3 separate regions of the Homo sapiens genome follow, and regions 2 and 3 are each linked to region 1. Evidence: promoter capture Hi-C in human tissues and cell types (Jung and others, 2019). All regions are on one chromosome and are shown on one strand. Each heading gives the region's core, a stretch centred on a gene start or on the middle of the fragment in contact. The rest is flanking DNA. Distances are from core to core; before and after follow the strand shown. Region 1 holds the start of WBP1L (WW domain binding protein 1 like). Region 2 overlaps NT5C2 (5'-nucleotidase, cytosolic II). Region 3 overlaps CNNM2 (cyclin and CBS domain divalent metal cation transport mediator 2).

Region 1 (3,853 bases), core at 1,015-3,514:
CGTGAGCCACTACATCCCACCTGGGGTTTCTTAGTGATGATGAAACCTAGCCTTTATGTGGAAGACTTACAACTTTTTGAGGCCAGGAATTAGAGACCTTGTGCCATGAAAATAATTTGGTCCTTCCCTAGTACTCAATTTTTACTTCTCCTCTAAGGAGCTTGACTTGTGGAATGGATAAATTTCTAAGAAACGAGAGATTGGCAAAAATACGTGTCACTTTTTATAGTACTTGGAAAAGCAGGATCAAGATAAAGGCAGAACTATGGACTTTCTTAAGCTGAGGGAAGACTGACTTAACTCTTACCTGTTTCCCATTTTTCCAACACTTAAGCCAAGAACAACTTCCTCTGGGCTCAGATGTGGGCTAGACTGGGCCAGGCTGTAAAACACTTTGACAGGTTTTTGAGAGGAAATTGACTGCTAAAGTCAACTGTGTTATTTGCCATGGGTCTTCCTTTGTCCATTTATTTTACCAACTTTTTTTTTTCTTTTTTTTTTGAGACAGAGTCTCACTCTGTCACCTAGGGTGGAGTGCAGTGGCACAGTCTTGGCTCACTGCAACCTCTGCCTCCCAGGTTCAAGCGATTCTTCTGCTTTAGCCTCCTGAGTAGCTGGGACTACAGGCATGCACCACCACGCCTGGCTAATTTTTTGTATTTTTAGTAGAGATTGGGTTTCACAATGTTGGCCAGGCTCGAACTCCTGACCATGTGATCCGCCCACCTCGGCCTCCCAAAGTGCTGGGATTACAGGCAGGAGCCACCGCACCTGGCCTTTTTTTTTTTTTGAGACAGGGTCTCACTCTGTTGCCCAGGCTGGAGTACAGTGGCACAATCAAGGCTCATTGCAGCTTCAATCTCCCTAGCTCTGGTGATTGTCCCACCTCAGCCTCCCAAGTAGCTGGGACTACAAGTGTGCACCACCATGCTTGGCTAATTTGGCTAATTTAGTTTTTTTATTTTTGTAGAGACAGGGTTCTCTCCATGTTGCCCAGGCTGGTTTCAAACTCCTGAGCTCAAGGGATCTACCTGCCTCAGCCTCCCAAAGGGCTAGGATTATAAGCATGAGCCACCACACCTGGCTATTTTACCAACATTGATCAAGCTCTGGTTGAGCCTTGTACAGGATATTATAGGCTTTAAAAGAAGAAGAAGAAAGACCTGGTATGCTGTACAAAAAACTGCAAACCAGGCACGCAGATATAAGTGTTACAAGAATCCAGAAGAAGCAGCAAGGAGATGGGGCTAGGAGTTTGTAAGCAGGGAACTGTATCTGTAATATGTAAATGAAGTTACTGGGCATCTCTTCAATGGTCAGTGTGAGTGGAATGTGTGGGAAAATGTAGTGGTGAGAGGTGAGATAAAGAGAAGTAGACAGGGACGAAGTCACAGAGAGGACCGTGTTGGGAAGTTTGGACTCTCTATTCTGTAGGTAGATGAAGTATTTAAAAGAAGAGGCCATGATATAGTAATATTTGGTTTAATGTGGTATGGTTGTAGTGTGTGGCGGAAATTTGAGAGGAAGAATTGTCAACTTGCAGGGCAGCAGGGAAGCCATTTGTATTTAGCTAGAAGAACATGGATTGAAGCAATGGATGATGGATTTCAGAGCAATTTGTGAAGTAGAACCAGAATTTTGTCCGTCGAACTTGGGGTGACGAAGCACTATGCCTCAGATAAAGGTACTATCTTCTAGGGAATTCAAACGGACCTAAGCTGCTATTTGGGCAGTTGAGACCAAGAGAGGCATCCTGGTAATAGTGCTGTGCTTCAAGACAAAAGACATTAAAATATTTTTACATTGCAATTGTTTTCCTCTTCAGGAGCGCCTGGTTACCTTTCAGGAATAATTTATTTTCCAACACCCTTGAGAAACATTAAACCTTTTTTCTTTTTTTGATGTGGAAAACTGGAAAACTAGTACTTCCGCCACACTCAAGATGGCTACATCAGAAATAGACTTTTCCATCCACCTGGGTGGCCCCGCCCCCTTATGAAGCTGCTTCCGCCACTCTCTGCGGGTTGGGACGAATTTTACACTTCTTCGCAGCATTCAAGATGGTCCGGCTTCCTCCTACTTTTTATTGGCTGCATCGCTTCGTCTTCAGGGGAAGGCGGGACTTATATTTGATCGACAGCTACATTGATCAATGGACAAAGGGCAAAGGCCAATGAAGCGCTGGAACTGGAGAGTCTCTCGCGTGTCTGGGAGGGTGTTTTGCGCGGGGCGGGGTGGAGCAGAGCCGGAAGCGGGAGGGGAGCGTCAAACAGGAAAAGAAGGGAAGAAGGAAGAAGAGGGTAGAGGAGGAGAGGGAGGAGGAGGAGGGAGGTGGCGGCGCCGTGGCGGAGGAGCAGGAGCAGGAGGGGGATGGAGAGGAGAAGGCTCCTGGGTGGCATGGCGCTCCTGCTCCTCCAGGCGCTGCCCAGCCCCTTGTCAGCCAGGGCTGAACCCCCGCAGGTAAGGGGGAGGGGGCGTCTGGGCCATGTTGGGTCCTGGGGGTCGTCGAGGCCTGGCTGGAGGGGTCTGAAGGAGTGTTGTTGCCAAGAGTTGAGGGGTCCCGAGAGGGGCGTCTATGCCTGGCGTGGACAGGATCTAAAGGGGCGTCGGTATTTAGCTGAGGGACACCTGTGACAGTTTTGGTGTCAAGGAGGTGGCAGAGGCATGATGCCAAGCGAGTGAGGGGCGTTTGAGACGGCAGGTTGGTTAGGTGGGCTGGGGTGACTGTGGCTGGATAGCGGTGCCAAGCTGAGGATGTGGGCCTTATTCGTGTCCCTCTGTGGAGCAGGTGTCCCAGGCAGTAATGCAGTATGTACGTCTGTGTGTGTAGGGGTACACAGGCTATTGAGTTGGCCTGTGAGGGAGGGGATCCTGAGGATATTTCTTTAAGGATGGACTGGGGAAAGTTCCGAGGGCATCTTAGTACGTTTAAAAAAAATTACTATGTTCCTGGGAGAGACTTGGCCCCATTTTAAAATCTGTAAGCCATGGCGCACTTGGTTGGAGGGAGGACTCTCAGAAGGCAGGTGGGATGAAACAGAGTGGAACCCCTCAGGAGGAGGAGCACACTTGAGCTGTAACAAGCTCTTGCTGTTAGGCTGGCTGGCCTGGGAGAGCAAGTCACGGATGCTGATCTGAGCCAGCTCAGGGCTTTTGACCAGAGGGTGGTTCTGATGCCAATATGGGCAGCAAATGGAGCACCCTAGCTTTTCTTGCTGGGTGGCTTGCTCTTTATCCAGGCAGAGAAGCTTGCTTGTGCTGATTCCAGCTCCAGCTGGCATTTCAAAACCCTAATGGGAGCGTTACTCCTGGTGCCAAGTTGGGTGGGGTGCAGTGGGGGCAATCACCCCTCCTTCCTTGCATGTGGCAAAGCTTTATGATTCTTTTTTCTTCACTTTCTGTTCTTTTCCCCGTTTTTTCAGAAAGGCATACACACATAGACGCATAGCGTAGTGGCAAAGTTTATACAACTTAGCGCTTGAACTTGTGTTGTGAACAAGAGCAGAAACTGAGTGCCAGCAAAAATACTTATCTTTTCCCTAGGAGTTTTAGGGCTGCCTTTTCACAAATACATCTTGTTTTGCCCATTATCCTCTATTTTAAAATACTGATTAAAAAATAAGTTGAAATTCACATGACAAAAACCATTTTAAAGTGAACAATTCAGTGGCATTTAGTACACTTACAATGTTGTGCAACTACCACCTCTATCTAGTTCCAAAACATTTTCATCACCCCAATAGAAAACCTCGTCCCTACTAAGCAGTTACTCTCTGTCTCCCTTTTCCCCCAGCCCCTGGCAACCACCCGTCTGCTTTCAGTCTCTATGGATTTATCTATTCTGGATATTTTA
Region 2 (3,853 bases), core at 987-3,486, 360 kb after region 1:
AGGCAATAATTTTATGTAGTAGTATTTAATCATCATGAACCAACCTCATTTAATTCAAGCTTTGTACCAACTCAAAGTATGTCCTAATATAGCTAAAGTGAGTAAAATCTTAAAAACTAATTCTAAAGCAACTAAAAAATATTGACTCCGTCCAGACAGAAAATCATAATTGTTTTCTGTAAGGAATAAGTGCTTAATCAAACAAGGTATAAAAAACATTCTTCTTACTACACAGCTGGTACCATTCTAAAACATAGTCTTTTTTCTTGGACAACTGAGAAGGCTTATATTTTTCTCCATTAGATGCTGTATGTGGGATATATATGATAGCATCTCAAACATCATTTTCTTAATCTTAAATATTCCCTATCAAATCCAGAAATGGAAACTGCCAAGCTTCTATCATGTTAAGTGTATTAGAGAAACACGTACCTATTTGCCAACAGCCCCAAATAGCACCACCTGTGATTACTGCCCATCAGTTTTAGTAATCTCCTTTTTTACCTGTAAGTGGGTCTTCCTCAGTTGCAATAAACTGAGCTTAATTCAGGAACACCAAGATATGGTGTATATGGAAAGTTCATGGTAATTTTAGAATCAACATCAACCAACCAAAAAAACAACAAAGAATTATTCAATGTTTTGGGGGGTTTTTTTGTTAAGGATAAATCTGGAATGTCTAATTTGAGGGGTAAGGAAAGTAGTCTTAATCTAGTCTTAATCCAAAAATATCTTTAAAAATTACCTGGTAGGGAATGTAGAATCATAAGCAAAGCTGAGCAACTCCTGGGGATAGCCAATAGAAACTAATCTCTCCACAGTAAGCTCAAAACCAAGGGACTCATACTCTGGGGACTTGTACACTGCACAAAGAGGAGGTTTTCATTAGTTAGCAGAAAGAACAGCCAATTAAAACAGAATGCAAATGAATGAATTTCTGCTCTTTCCCAGTTCTTCCCCCCTCCTAATTCTGCCATTTTTCTTCTTCCCCCTCAAACTCCATGTTCTGTATTGCCCCAAGTAATTAGAGAACTCAATTGTTAGTCTGTGGAAATAGGTCATATTATATAGCAGGAGCACAGCAACAAGCTGAATTATCAAATTATTCAGTATAGTTCCTTCATTCTCAGGAAACCTATTCCAAACTTTTTTTTCCTTTATTCTTTCATTCCCACAGTTTAAAAAAATGAATATGCATAGCTGTGATATTAATCGTGAGAATAAAAGTACACAGAAAACTAGGTAAGGGAGGTCTATGTATGCTGAAGGCTTCGGTGTTGTGCATAATTGTTGCAGAAATCCTTCAAAATGAACTTTTAAAATAATTTATTTTTGGAATTCCTGTTTGGCTTGGGTAATTGCTTTATATGCCTTCTCCAATCAACATATTTGTTCCACTTGTTAGATTAACTGTTTTCTTATCAGCTCTAACAATGTATGCCATCAAAATTGTATTTTGCAGGTTATTATTGTAAACCAACCATAAAAAGACATGTTTGTGACAATTAGGGAAATCTAAATATGAAATGGAGTTAGATATTGAAGAATTGGTCAGGCGTGGTGGCTCATGCCTGTAGTTCCAGCACTTTGAGAAGCCGAGGCGGGCAGATCACTTGAGGTGAAGAGTTCGAGACCAGCCTGACCAACATGGTGAAACCCCCGTCTCTATTAAAAATACAAAAAATTAGCCGGGTGTGGTGGCGCATGCCTGTTGTCCCAGCTAGGAGGCTGAGGTGGGAGAATCGCTTGAACCTGAGAGGCAGAGGTTGCAGTGAACTGAGATCATGCCACTGCACTCCAGCCTGGGTGACAGAGCGAGACTCTGTCTAAAAAAAAAAAATATGCAAATGTGTATATAAAACTAAATCTCTCCTTATCTGCCAAAGGAGCATTGAGTTTGTTACAGGTCAAATAACAGGGATTTCAGGCAATGAGGGGTTCTCTCTCTATTGTGTAAGTCTGAAATTTTCCATAATGAAAAAACTTTTCAGAGTTTACTACTGAAATTCAAGCAGAAAGAAAATGTTGCGGCCAGGTGCGGTGGCTCACGCCTGTAATCCCAGCACTTTGGGAGCCCAAGGCGGGCGGATCACTTGAGGTCAGGAGTTCCAGACCAGCCTGGCCAACACAGTGAAACCCCGTCTCTACTAAAAACACAAAAATTAGTTGGACGTTGTGGCGGGCACCTGTAATCCCAGCTACTCGGGAGGGTGAGGCAGGAGAATCGCTTGAACCCAGGAGGTGGAGGCTGCAGTGAGCCGAGACCGTGCCACTACACTCCAGCCTTGGCGACAGAGTGAGACTGTCTCAAAAAGAAAAAAAAGAAAAGAAAAGAAAATGTTGCTCCTTTAAATAGGTTTCTTCCAAATGAAATATTTAGGTAAGCATCTTTCCATCAGTCTCCAGGAGTGAGTAAGCCATATTAAAAATAACAGCTAAAAAGACCTGCTAGCTTGCTAAATGCCAAATGAGGCAAAAATATCCATCCTATTCTTGTAATCTCATAATAATGCAACTATTATTATTATAGTTCTTCCATCTACTATTAACATCTTTAGCTTTTGGCGCAAACTGATTTTTCATTGCAATTAGTCTACCTATCCAAGTTGGTGCTAATACTTTAATGAGTGTGATTCAACTTTCCCTTTCCAAAAACAATCCTTTAGAATATTTCTGGAAATATATAACAGTAATACTAGTTGCCACGTAGGAAAGGAACTGAGTGGCCTTTAAGAGACAGGGAAGGAAACTGTCATGTACTTCTTGTACCTTTAAAACTTACATTAATGTATATCTATTTTTAAAATTAAACTGAAGTTTTTAAAAAGCAAGCTGGGCTTTCAAAATCCTTTAATAAATATTTGTCAGATTTTAAAACCAGAAGCCTTTTAAGGTCTTTTGAGTCTCATCAGAACAATGCCAAAAGAAAAAAACCATCTTTATTTCTTTTGTTGTCACAAGGGTAATAATAATTTAATGCCAATGCTAACCCTGGCTAACTTTTTTTTTTCTTTTTCTTTTTCTTTTTTTCTGAGTCAGAGTCTCGCTCCATTGCCCAGGCTGGAGTGCAGTGGCCGTGATCTTGACTCACTGCAACCTCTGCCTCCCAGATTCAAGCGATTCTCATGACTCAGCCTCCCAAGTAGCTGGGATTACAGGTGCCCGCCACCACACCTGGTATTTTTAGTTGAGACGGGGGTTTCACCATGTTGGCCAGGCTGGTCTCGAACTCCTGACCTCAAGTGATCCGCCTGCCTCGGGCTCCCAAAGTGCTGCTATTACAGGCTGAGCCACCATGCCCAGCCATGGCTAACATTTTCAAAACTGGCTATATTACCTTCTTCCCCTTAAATCCTGCCTCATCCTCTCCCATCCCCCTAAAAAAAACTTGTTGAAGACTTAAGTGTGGAATTCCTAAATCTATATGATGTACACTGTGGATAAAAAAATAAAGTGCTATATACACTAATAGAGTAAGAGCTGGTGTATCATAAAACCATAAGGCATGGCACCTACTGTTGTAAATTTGTTATAAGTATAACCACTCTCACCTTACCCTCCTCAATGCCCCATGCTCCCACCCCAGTTGCAAGTAAATCTCATTTTAGTACAATCTCCATAAAACAAAAATTATTTCTCAATCCTAACCAAGGCCCCATTTATTTCAAACTGTATTTAATGAAATAAAGTTCCAGTATAGCTAAGTAATTTGGGTAATCTACTGACATTTATTCTTACAGGATTTGGTCCATATAAAATGTTTTCAATTGTTAATTTTTTCAGAAGGACAATTTGCTGGATATGCCTTAAGAGTGGGAGACAAAAAACAAACCTTAATTACTCCCACCCACAC
Region 3 (3,853 bases), core at 695-3,194, 300 kb after region 1:
ATGCTGGGATTACAGGCGTGAGCCATTGTGCCCTGCCTGAGGTGCATCTTCTAATCACTTTGTACATTTAATAATATAGTGGGGTTTTTTCCCTCTAAGTTGGTAATAAGTTGATGGTGCCTTAGAATTTAGGAAAAACATTAATAAAATAACGAGCATTACCACTTAGTGATCACCCAGCCGATTCCAGGCAGTGTCTTTGCTGGGTACCAGCATTATCTCTGATTTTCACAACAATCCTATTGCAGTAACAATTATGAGGCTGGCTTTAAAGATAAGGAAGCTCAGAAAAGTTATGTTTGGTCATGGTCTTCTGCTAGTAATGGCTAATGAGTGGCCTGCTGGAGTTCAAATCCAGAACTGTTCGACTCATGTTCTTCCCTTGCCATCCTGGTCTCAAGCAATCCATCCCCCAAAGCAGCAGTCTTTAACCTATTTATGCCTAGTGTTCCATTATTGGAATGCTAAGCTTGTGGGAGTTATTTATATTCTACTGCTCAAGGTCATCACCAAGGTCTGATTTTTCACAAAAACTTGCAACCTGTGACATAAATGGGTTAAACTTTTTTTGGTCTCAGGACCCCTTGAAACTCTTAAAAATGATTGAGGATCCTTTTATTTATGTGGGTTCTATCTTTTGATATTTACTGTATTTGAATTAAAACAGAGACCTTCAAAACATTGGTTGATTTAAAGGACAATAATCCATTGCTTGCTAATATAGTGTTATTAATAAAAATATTTTCTAAAACAAACAGTAGAAGAGTGCCATTGTTTTACTTTTTGCATGTCTAATCAAGCTAAAAGGAAGGCAGCTGGGTTCAGTCTTGTGCATTCAGTCTGTGCAGTATACTGTGTTAGTTGAAGTATATCAGGAGAATCTGGCCTCACACAGGTATGTATTTGGAAAAGGGAGGAGTATCAGCTTTTTTGGACAGTGATGGGTATTCTCCTTTGATATTACATCAAAACTCCATACATAGTAATTTATTAAAGGTTAGTTGTAATGTAGAATCTGAAACCATACCAGTAGACCTTTGGACTCTTACATTAACTTTGTTTGGTCCGAAATCTTCTTTACAGAAGAATACTGAATAATATATGCAGGTACTCCCCCTTCTAAATAATACATGTAGATACTCCCATATTCCAGGAAGTAGAGCTTAACTCCCACCCTTGTATGGGTGGGCTAGACTTAGTGATTTGTTTTCAAATAATAGAATTAAGGAAAGGGAAAAATGAGTAACTTTCCAATGGAGAAACCTGGGAAACACAGCCTTAACCAAGTGATGAAAAAGGTGAATGTCAGCAGTGATGTCATATAACCACTGATGTAACTAGAAAACCTATAACCCAGTATACTCATGGGTGAAACATCAGACAAGCTCAAATCGGGGGACATTCTGCAGGAGGCCTGACCAGTACCCTTCAATATTGTCAATGTCATAAAAAGCAAAGACCGAAAAACTGTCACAGACCAGAGGAGACTAAAGAGACATGACAACTAAATGTGGTGTGGTGCCCTGAACCAGACAACAAAACAAAGAGGATGTTGTAGAAATAATCAGCGAAATCCAAATAAAGTCTGGAGTTTACTTAATAGTAATGTACCAATGCCAATTTTTTAGTTTTGACAAATATATCATGGTAGTGTAAGATGTTAACAATGGGGGAAACCGGGTGAAGGGTTTATAGGAACTCTCTGTACTCTCTTTGCAACTTTTCTGTAAATCTAAAATTATTCCAAAGTAAGAATTTTTAAAAATCTGTTGTTCTGTCTTATACTCCAAATGGATTGTGTACTCGTGCATGATTTTGTAACATTGCCATAGTCACTTGGAAAATATTGGTTCACTGAGTTATACAGATCTTCAAAATGTTGACAGATTGCAATATTCAATATTTTTAACAATCGTTTGTTAATATCACCAGCAATCTCATCAGAAAAGTCTTTAATTGTTGAGAAGCTGTTACGCTCGTGGCTACAAGTCTCCCAAAATTTTAATTTTCTTTTCTTTTTTTTCTTTTTTGTTGAGACAGAGTCTCACTTGTTGCCCAGGCTGGAGTGTAATGGCACGATCTTGGCTCACTGCAACCTCCACCTCCTGGGTTCAAGCCATTCTCCTGCCTCAGCCTCCTGAGTAGCTGGGATTACAGGCGTGCACCACCACACCTGGCTAATTTATTTTGTATTTTTAGTAGAGACAGGGTTTCACCATGTTGGCCAGGTTGGTCTTGAACTCCTGACTTCAAGTGATCCGCCTCCCAAAGGGCTGGGATTACAAATGTGAGCCACTGCGCTCAGCATTTTTTTTTTTTTTTTTTGAGTGGGAGTCTCACTCTGTTGCCCAGGCCTGGAGTGCAGTGGCACAATCTCGGCTCACTGCAACCTCCGCCTCCCAGATTCAAGTGATTCTCCCACCTCAGCCTCCTGAGTAGCTGGAATCACAGGCACACACCACCACATCCAGCTAGTTTTTGTATTTTTAGTAGAGATGGGGTTTTGCCATGTTGGCCAGGCTGGTCTCAAACTCCTGACCTCAGGTGATCTACCTGCCTCAGCCTCCCAAAACGCTGGGATTACAGGCGTGAGCCACCGCACCCAGCTAAAATTTTAACTGTCTGTTGAAAGCTCAAATTTTATCATTGGCAGTCCACACTGCCTATTGTTTTCCTTGATGTGACAGGTTCATTTTTGAGAAAATGCCTGACAAATACCCAAGTCTATATAACCATAGTTTGTCTAGTAGTCGTGTTTGAAGTAAAAACATTCAACAATGAAAGTGGCCAGTCCAACTTGCAAGTCAATCACAAGAGTCTTTCCTCAGGACGGCTGCCATACTTCAGAATTCAACAGAAGTGTTTTATGACAATTCCCATGTTGTCATACAGATTACCAAAAGACATGTACTCAGGTCAGGATTTAATGAAATTAATGTTTACTGCTTCAGCAAGGACTTTTTTTTAAGACAGTGTCTTACTCTGTCGCCTAGGCTGGAGTGCAGTGGCTCGATCATAGCTCACTGCAGCCTCGAACTCCTGGATCCTCCCACCTCAGCCTCCCAGGAAGCTGGGACTGTAGGCCTGCATGTCCAGCTACTTTTTCTGTTTATTTTTTTGTAGAGACAGGATCTCACTGTGTTGCCTAGGCTGATTGTGAACCCCTGGGCTCAAGTGGTCTTCCCGCCCGGGCCTCCCAAAGCTCTTGGATTACAAGAGTGAGCCATCGCTCCCAGCCAAGTACATTCTTAAGAGAAGCTACTTCCTTCCCTTTACTGCATGTGTGTTGTGACAGAGAACAGTGTTCACTAAGTGCAGCTTGCTCCCACTACGTTCATCTGTGCTAAGGTGCCTTTTCACCATCAGTTCAAATTTCAACACAGTGAAAACAGCCAATAGCATCTTAGTATTCTTATGAAAATAGTTGGGCCTCATGGACCTCCTATAAGGGTCTTGGGAATCCCTAGGGCACCATGGACCACACTTTGAGAACCACTCTCTTTAGGTGGCAGTTGCCGAAAGGTTACGCAACAAGAGACATTACCATTAGGAAGCAGAGAACAATGGTGCAGTGCAATGTATGTGGAGGGTGACGCTCTTCTGGCGTAACTTTCTGCCTTTTAATGGCTCTTGAAGTTCTTCCATTTGTTTGTGATGTCTCAGTACCATTTTAAAATGCTGAAACAGAGATTTTGATAATTCGACATCTGTGTTTGCTGGTGTTTTTACCATATCACATATAACATGTCATTCAGAAAATTCAGAAAGTCACTTCCTAAACTTTTTCTTGTCTCTAAAGGTAAATCTCACCTGGCTATCGTGCAGCGGGTAAACAATGAGGGAGAAGGGGATC

What was found. Contacts are between HindIII fragments. The study calls those that stand out against the background at their distance.
Region 2: a contact is called between a fragment that was not itself captured here and the fragment with the promoter of WBP1L in region 1, in 1 of the 25 tissues and cell types used here (aorta).
Region 3: a fragment that was not itself captured here is called in contact with the fragment with the promoter of WBP1L in region 1 in 2 of the 25 tissues and cell types used here (bladder and spleen).

What each region holds. Positions count from the first base shown.
Region 1 is chr10:102,741,684-102,745,536 of GRCh38, forward strand. It overlaps WBP1L (WW domain binding protein 1 like), which reads left to right and starts at 2,265. Exons shown (of 4, transcript NM_001083913.2): 1 at 2,265-2,460. The coding sequence starts at 2,371. It overlaps SFXN2 (sideroflexin 2), which reads left to right. Exons shown (of 12, transcript NM_178858.6): 12 at 1-1,809. RefSeq lists enhancers at 1,912-1,961, 2,902-3,131 and a silencer at 2,242-2,401. The HindIII fragment of the contact is 7,220 bases long and covers 1-3,853 here.
Region 2 is chr10:103,105,844-103,109,696 of GRCh38, forward strand. It overlaps NT5C2 (5'-nucleotidase, cytosolic II), which reads right to left. Exons shown (of 19, transcript NM_001351169.2): 5 at 746-863. Among named protein-coding and RNA genes, the nearest start is that of NT5C2, 86 kb to the right of the region's middle. The HindIII fragment of the contact is 5,100 bases long and covers 1-3,853 here.
Region 3 is chr10:103,045,908-103,049,760 of GRCh38, forward strand. It overlaps CNNM2 (cyclin and CBS domain divalent metal cation transport mediator 2), which reads left to right. Exons shown (of 8, transcript NM_017649.5): 2 at 3,800-3,853. Among named protein-coding and RNA genes, the nearest start is that of CNNM2, 130 kb to the left of the region's middle. The HindIII fragment of the contact is 8,929 bases long and covers 1-3,853 here.